Regions from separate parts of the Homo sapiens genome. Here region 1 is linked to region 2. Evidence: promoter capture Hi-C in 16 types of primary human blood cells and fetal thymus (Javierre and others, 2016). All regions are on one chromosome and are shown on one strand. The core of a region is centred on a gene start or on the middle of the fragment in contact, and the rest is flanking DNA. Distances in the headings are between cores, read along the strand shown. Region 1 overlaps PPFIBP2 (PPFIB scaffold protein 2). Region 2 holds the start of ARFIP2 (ARF interacting protein 2).

The links. Contacts are between HindIII fragments. The CHiCAGO score rates a contact against its expected background, and 5 or more counts as called.
Region 1: a fragment that was not itself captured here is called in contact with the fragment with the promoter of ARFIP2 in region 2 in 5 of 17 cell types (M0 macrophages, M2 macrophages, total B cells and 2 more); the score reaches 7.3 in M0 macrophages.

The regions. Positions count from the first base shown.
Region 1 is chr11:7,521,238-7,523,937 of GRCh38, forward strand. The region is part of intron 1 of PPFIBP2 (PPFIB scaffold protein 2); the gene reads left to right. The region is part of intron 1 of LOC124902806 (leucine-rich repeat extensin-like protein 5); the gene reads right to left. Among named protein-coding and RNA genes, the nearest start is that of PPFIBP2, 8.6 kb to the left of the region's middle. RefSeq lists enhancers at 1-19, 90-269 and a silencer at 347-547. The HindIII fragment of the contact is 3,283 bases long and covers 1-2,700 here.
Region 2 is chr11:6,479,887-6,482,707 of GRCh38, forward strand. It overlaps ARFIP2 (ARF interacting protein 2), which reads right to left and starts at 1,445. Exons shown (of 8, transcript NM_001376558.2): 1 at 1,345-1,445; 2 at 437-577; 3 at 86-182. The coding sequence starts at 535. TIMM10B (translocase of inner mitochondrial membrane 10B) reads left to right here and starts at 1,615. Exons shown (of 3, transcript NM_012192.4): 1 at 1,615-1,669; 2 at 1,871-1,966; 3 at 2,159-2,821. The coding sequence starts at 1,631. The coding sequence ends at 2,335. RefSeq lists enhancers at 1,038-2,237, 1,074-1,193, 1,674-1,723. The HindIII fragment of the contact is 2,521 bases long and covers 2-2,522 here.

The sequences.
Region 1 (2,700 bases), core at 97-2,596, 1.0 Mb after region 2:
CTATGTTGCATAGTAATCATGATCCCTAACATACCTGTAGATGGGAGGCCTAGACACAGAAGGAATAGGACTGTCTCTCTGATAGGATAAAATACACCATCCTTGTATGGCATTCAAATCTCTACAGTGGTGGGCCCTACTTTAGCTCTCCAGCTGCCTCTCCACTGTTCCCCAAACTGAGAAGCTGAGTAATTTCTATTCTTTTGTGCCTATCTGCATTTGCATACACTATTTTATCTTCCTGGAAAGCCCTTTTGTCTCTATTCTGCAAGATTATTAATCCTTCAGGATATAGATCAAATTCTTAAAGCTCCCTTGCCCCTAAGTCGTTTTTACTCTTCTGTTACATACATATCACATCAAACAAAGATCTGCTATGCTATTTCATCACTTTATGTCTATGTCTCTGTCCATATTCCTCCAAACTCTGAGCTGCTTTAGGGCTGTATCAGCTCTTGTGCGTGGCCCCACACTTAGCAGATGTCCAGGAGGAGTCTGTGGTAGATATGGGCCTTAAGCTGGCTGGCTTTGCAATGTTTACCTCAGTAAAGAGGGAAAGGGGCTGGTTATTTCGTATGGTAGACGAGAGAAGGAAGAGGAGCAGAAGCTGAAAGACTGGGAGGAAGGACAGGCCCAGTGAAGAGTGGGCCCATATGGCTAGAGTCAGGGGGTTGGGTGGACACTGGGAGAGGTGAAGATGGAGTCCCAGGCTGGGAAGAGATCATGGAAGGCCTTGAAAGTTGGAGCTATATAATTTAAATTTTATTCTGATGACATTAAAGTTTCCATACTCAAGTATGGAAAAGACGTGGTAAAACTGTTCAGGATGATTGTGGCTGGGAAGGGCAGGTTGGAGGGACAGGGAGGAACTTCTTATGAGCACAGGCTGTTAGAATAACCCACTGAGGTAGCTCAGGACCTAAATCAAGGCAATGGCAGTAGGAATAGAGAGAAGGGAGCAGAGGCAAGTGACCATGCCAAGAAATCCGGCAGGATTTGGTGACTGATTGTATTTGAGGGAAAGAGAAAAGCGTCAAACTGGATACTGACGTGTGTTAGTTTGCTGGGAGAAGAATGAGGCAACTGTTAGTAGCATGAAAGCATGGAGGAACTTAGTGGAAGGGGGAAGGGAAATGAAAGTGGTTGATTCTTTTGGAATCAGAAGGGAGCCTCGGGTAGTTTCTTGCTTGCCCTTTATATGTTTACCCATAAGAGGATGGTGAAGCCCAGAGAAACCTACCCAAGATCACTTAGCTCTTGATTGTAGAACCCAGGTCTACTGGCATTATGGCCTGGGCTTCTATCTTCTGTAGCACATGAGTTTAGCCAGAGGAGAGCTGCCAGAAGGTCGAGATGGAGATTCCATTAGGCAATGAAAAATGGGAATGAGACCAGGTTTGGGGTGAATTCAGCCTGCAGAACAGCTAAGGCTGGAGTCTTATAGGTCAAGCACCCAGATGGGAAATGTCTGCTAGTTGCCAATGCCATGGGGGCCCGAAGGCTCATGAGGCCTCCTTTTTGCCCTGTGGCCTAGCTGTATGTGGGGCTGATGGGAGATATGAAGTACTTTTAGGGTATCAGCGCTCTTATACTTATTATGCTCAATGTGGGCACGTGTATTAATTTTCTTCTGGGAATGTAACCACCAATCAATTTATCAATTCCATGGGAAGTTGTATTCCAAGGCCCAAACACCTCCTCTACCCAGACTTCAGGGCACATCCAGCCAGTTCATGAGAAGTTGCCTCTTATAGTGTTGGAGTGGGGATGGGGGTACAGGGAACAGCTAGCTAGGGAAGGCAACCAGCCATGAGGACCTCATCCAAGCAGGGTCCGGTGTAGAGTCAGGATCGGGGACTCAGATGGCTGGATGAGGGCTACAGCTGTCCGATGAGGAGTGAGGATCTTATCTGGAATCTGCACTGCTGTCGGGAGACTCAGTGGCCCTGAGGCTGGAGTTCTTCAATCCTCCTCACCCCTCCCTTCCACACACCTTTGCCCAGCCAGGCTCCTCAGCCTCCAGCCTCCCAGGATGGAGTCTTGTCTTTGTCATGGACGCTGACACAGTGGTCACTTCTGTTTCTTGAGGAAGAGCCAGGTTTATGAATGTGAAACATTTGAATTATTGTCTGAGTTGTGGTAGTTGCCAAATAAAAACATATACACAAAGAATACTGGGAGCCAACGTTGAAGGAAAACTTGTCAAACTTCCCTTTCTCTTTTGAGCTTTGTAGTGGGGTCTTGCCAGTTTATACCTCATCTTGTTCTGAAGGTTTTTTGTTTCTGTTTTTCATATTAAGGCCAAAATATGTGCACGAGCCTGCTCACCCATGGTAAAGTGTCAGGGACAGCCACAAATTGCACAGATTACAGACGTAGATTTGCACTTCCCATTTCTTAGGAAGTAGGTGGGTGGAGGAACCACTAATGCATCTCCAGGAAGGGATTTGTTAGCTCAAGGGAGGCTATGGGGACTAGATCCTACATTGCCTCTTCCCAGGCTTATGGTCGCTGTGGTGTTCCCAGGTGGCTCTGCTTCAGGTATGTCTCTTTCCTCCTGGGAATAGGGAAGGAGGTGATCCAGATCTCAGGATTTCTCTGCCTGCTTAGGGATGCCAGTGAGGTGTGTTTAGTGGGGATACTCTTGTCCCTGCCCTCCAGGGTAAAGTTACACTTCCACAGTAACTTGTGTGCATGGTT
Region 2 (2,821 bases), core at 195-2,694:
AAGCTTTCCTAGACATATCCTATGCTTCCCCAAACCATTCCTGTCCCCTCCTCCACCCAAGATTCCTGTTTCTGAACATTCATACCTGTGGGGATGAGTCCATCACCAGAGCCCCCATAGCCACCAGACACAATGCTGGTTTCATTGAGGTTGGGTCCTGACACCATCACCTGCTGGAGGTCCTATAGGCCAGAGAAGAGGGGTTGCTTCAGGAACATAGGGGCTGCAGAAGCATTTTGGAGGTGGGAACAAGTTTGGATTCAAGCATCATAAAGATAGTACACAAGGGAAGTCTGCACAGAATCAAAATGATACGTAAAAAGAATGAAGGGAGTCAGATAAGTCAGGGGAAGGCTACTGGAATGGAGGGTGAGAACCTAGGATTTATAAATTGGATTCCTAAATTGAAACAATTAGAAGAATCAAACAGAAGCACCTGCTCCAGCCCATCATCTTCAGGAAGCTGCCTGGCTTCGCCGTTCCCGTGGATAGGGATCTCCATTGTGGCTGCCTTCCCTAGGATCCCGTCCGTCATGGCTAGGAAAGGTATTGGAGTAAAACTCTCCACCCCAGCACCCTGCAAAGCCCAACACAGAAGTTCTGGACACTGGCCAGCACTCTAGAAGAAGGAGGCCTCCTCTGTCATTTCTTTAAAGGCTGTCCCAGGGTTTGAGTGTCCCAGCGTTTGGCCATCATTCCTTTCTTCAGATATATGTATTTCTCCCCTCCAAAACGCACATTTGAAACAGGCACACCAAAGCACGGTGTCTTCTCACAAGCCCCCAACCTCACCAGGACTCTGGTGATTATTTCTACACTCATTCAGCAGACATTTAGTGAGTGCCTACTATGTGTCAGGCACTATTTGTGACAATGAAAATACAACAGTGAAGAGGGAAAGTCTGCTCTCTTAGAACTTATCTCCATGCAGGCGTGTTTATGCTGAGGAGATGAACCCTTTCCAGGGCTCAGGTCTTCACCCCCCTATTCAGGTTTGTTCTCCATTGCTTGGCCTTTCACATTCCTTTAGCGTTTCTTCCCCCTTCCTTCAGGGGGTCTCCCCTCCTCCGTCTCATACACCTCGTCTTCCTCGGGCCCTCCCCACCAGGCCTTAGTTAGATCAGTGGGTGTATGTTCCCAGTCTCTGGTAAAAGCCTCTCTCTCCCAGGATATCGGTGACCCTTCCACAGTCAGTTATGTCTCCCAGGTGTGTGAGTCCCCGCCCCCACCCCCATACACCTGGACATCAGGTGTGTCCTCATCCTTCCCCGGGGCTCGGGGCATCTTGCCCTCTGGACAGGTTTGTGCGTTCAACTTCCCGTCGCCCAAGCATGTTCCTCTCACCTCGGGCCGGGCCGCTCTTCCCCTCAGGGCGCCAGGCCCGGGCCGCGCGGGGACCTCGGGCTCCAGTTCCCGTCGCGATCCTAGCAGCAGGTCAGGGACTCGGCGGAAATGACGTCCTCTCCGGGCAGAAGAAGCCGGCCACGTCGCAGATTATAAGGGCGGAGCTGACGTCGCAGCCAGGGCAGGGCGATACTCGAGCTAGCTCTCGAGATCAGCGAGAGGTTACTTCCGGGGCGGCACCGAGAAGCTGAAACGGAAGTGGCGTACGGCATGCGCCGGTGGCGTGATGGAGCGGCAGCAGCAGCAGCAACAGCAACTGCGAAACGTAAGTGAGAACTAAGTCGTTTCGAGGCCAGACGTTCAGCTCGCATTCCTGCACACATCGCGGGAACCCCACAGGGCCAGGGATTTGAGGGCTGGAAACTTCGGGCTATGGCGCGCGGGCCTGGGAAACTTTGGGCGGCGCGACCTTGACTAGAAGTGTGGGGCCCTTATCGCTGAGTTTGTGGTCCCCCTTTTCTCTCAGCTGCGTGACTTCCTGTTGGTCTACAATCGGATGACAGAACTCTGCTTCCAGCGCTGTGTGCCCAGCTTGCACCACCGAGCTCTGGACGCTGAGGAGGTGGGGAACTGTGTAGGGAGGTTACGCTGCAAGAAGAGTTTAGCGGTAGACTGCTTCCCTCCTCACCCCACTTCCCGTACCTCTGGCCCTGGCCTTCCCACGACCCTCACCCCTAGGCTGGGCATGGGGAAGAAAGGAGGCGGACCCGACAGGGCACCTTTATCCTCCACTTAAACCCTATCTTCCTTCTAGGAGGCCTGTCTGCACAGCTGTGCTGGGAAGCTGATCCATTCCAACCACCGCCTCATGGCCGCTTACGTGCAGCTCATGCCTGCCCTGGTACAGCGCCGCATCGCAGACTACGAGGCTGCCTCGGCTGTGCCAGGCGTTGCTGCTGAACAGCCTGGGGTCTCTCCATCAGGCAGCTAGCCATACCCAACCCCAGGAAGGAAGGCCTTGGATGGACCCTCAGATTGAAGGACCCGGTGGACCTTGGGGTTGGTGAATCCTAAACAGAGAGAATTCGAGGTTGCCTGAAAGCTGGGTGTCCTTGCTCCTTTTCCTGGAGCCAATATACCCAGTTTTTACTCAGTTTGATTTATATTCTGGGCAAGGAAGCTTTGCCTACTTTATTGGCACAATCCGTTGTTCTGTCGTTTAGTGCATATCTGCTGGCTTCAGCCCTGGCAGCTGAGAAATTGTTTTCTATATGTAGAAGGAAAACCTGAGCATTTGCAGGCATCTGGTTAAAGCAGGGTCTGTGTGTACAATTTTAAAACGGGTAATATGTCATGCTCTTAGTTCATCTTCACAACAAAACTATGAGTAAGCGGTATTAGCCTCACTTAACAGATGAGGAAGCAAGATTCCAGAAAGTACCAGAAGGTCATTTTATACAACAGGAGATTGGTTCCT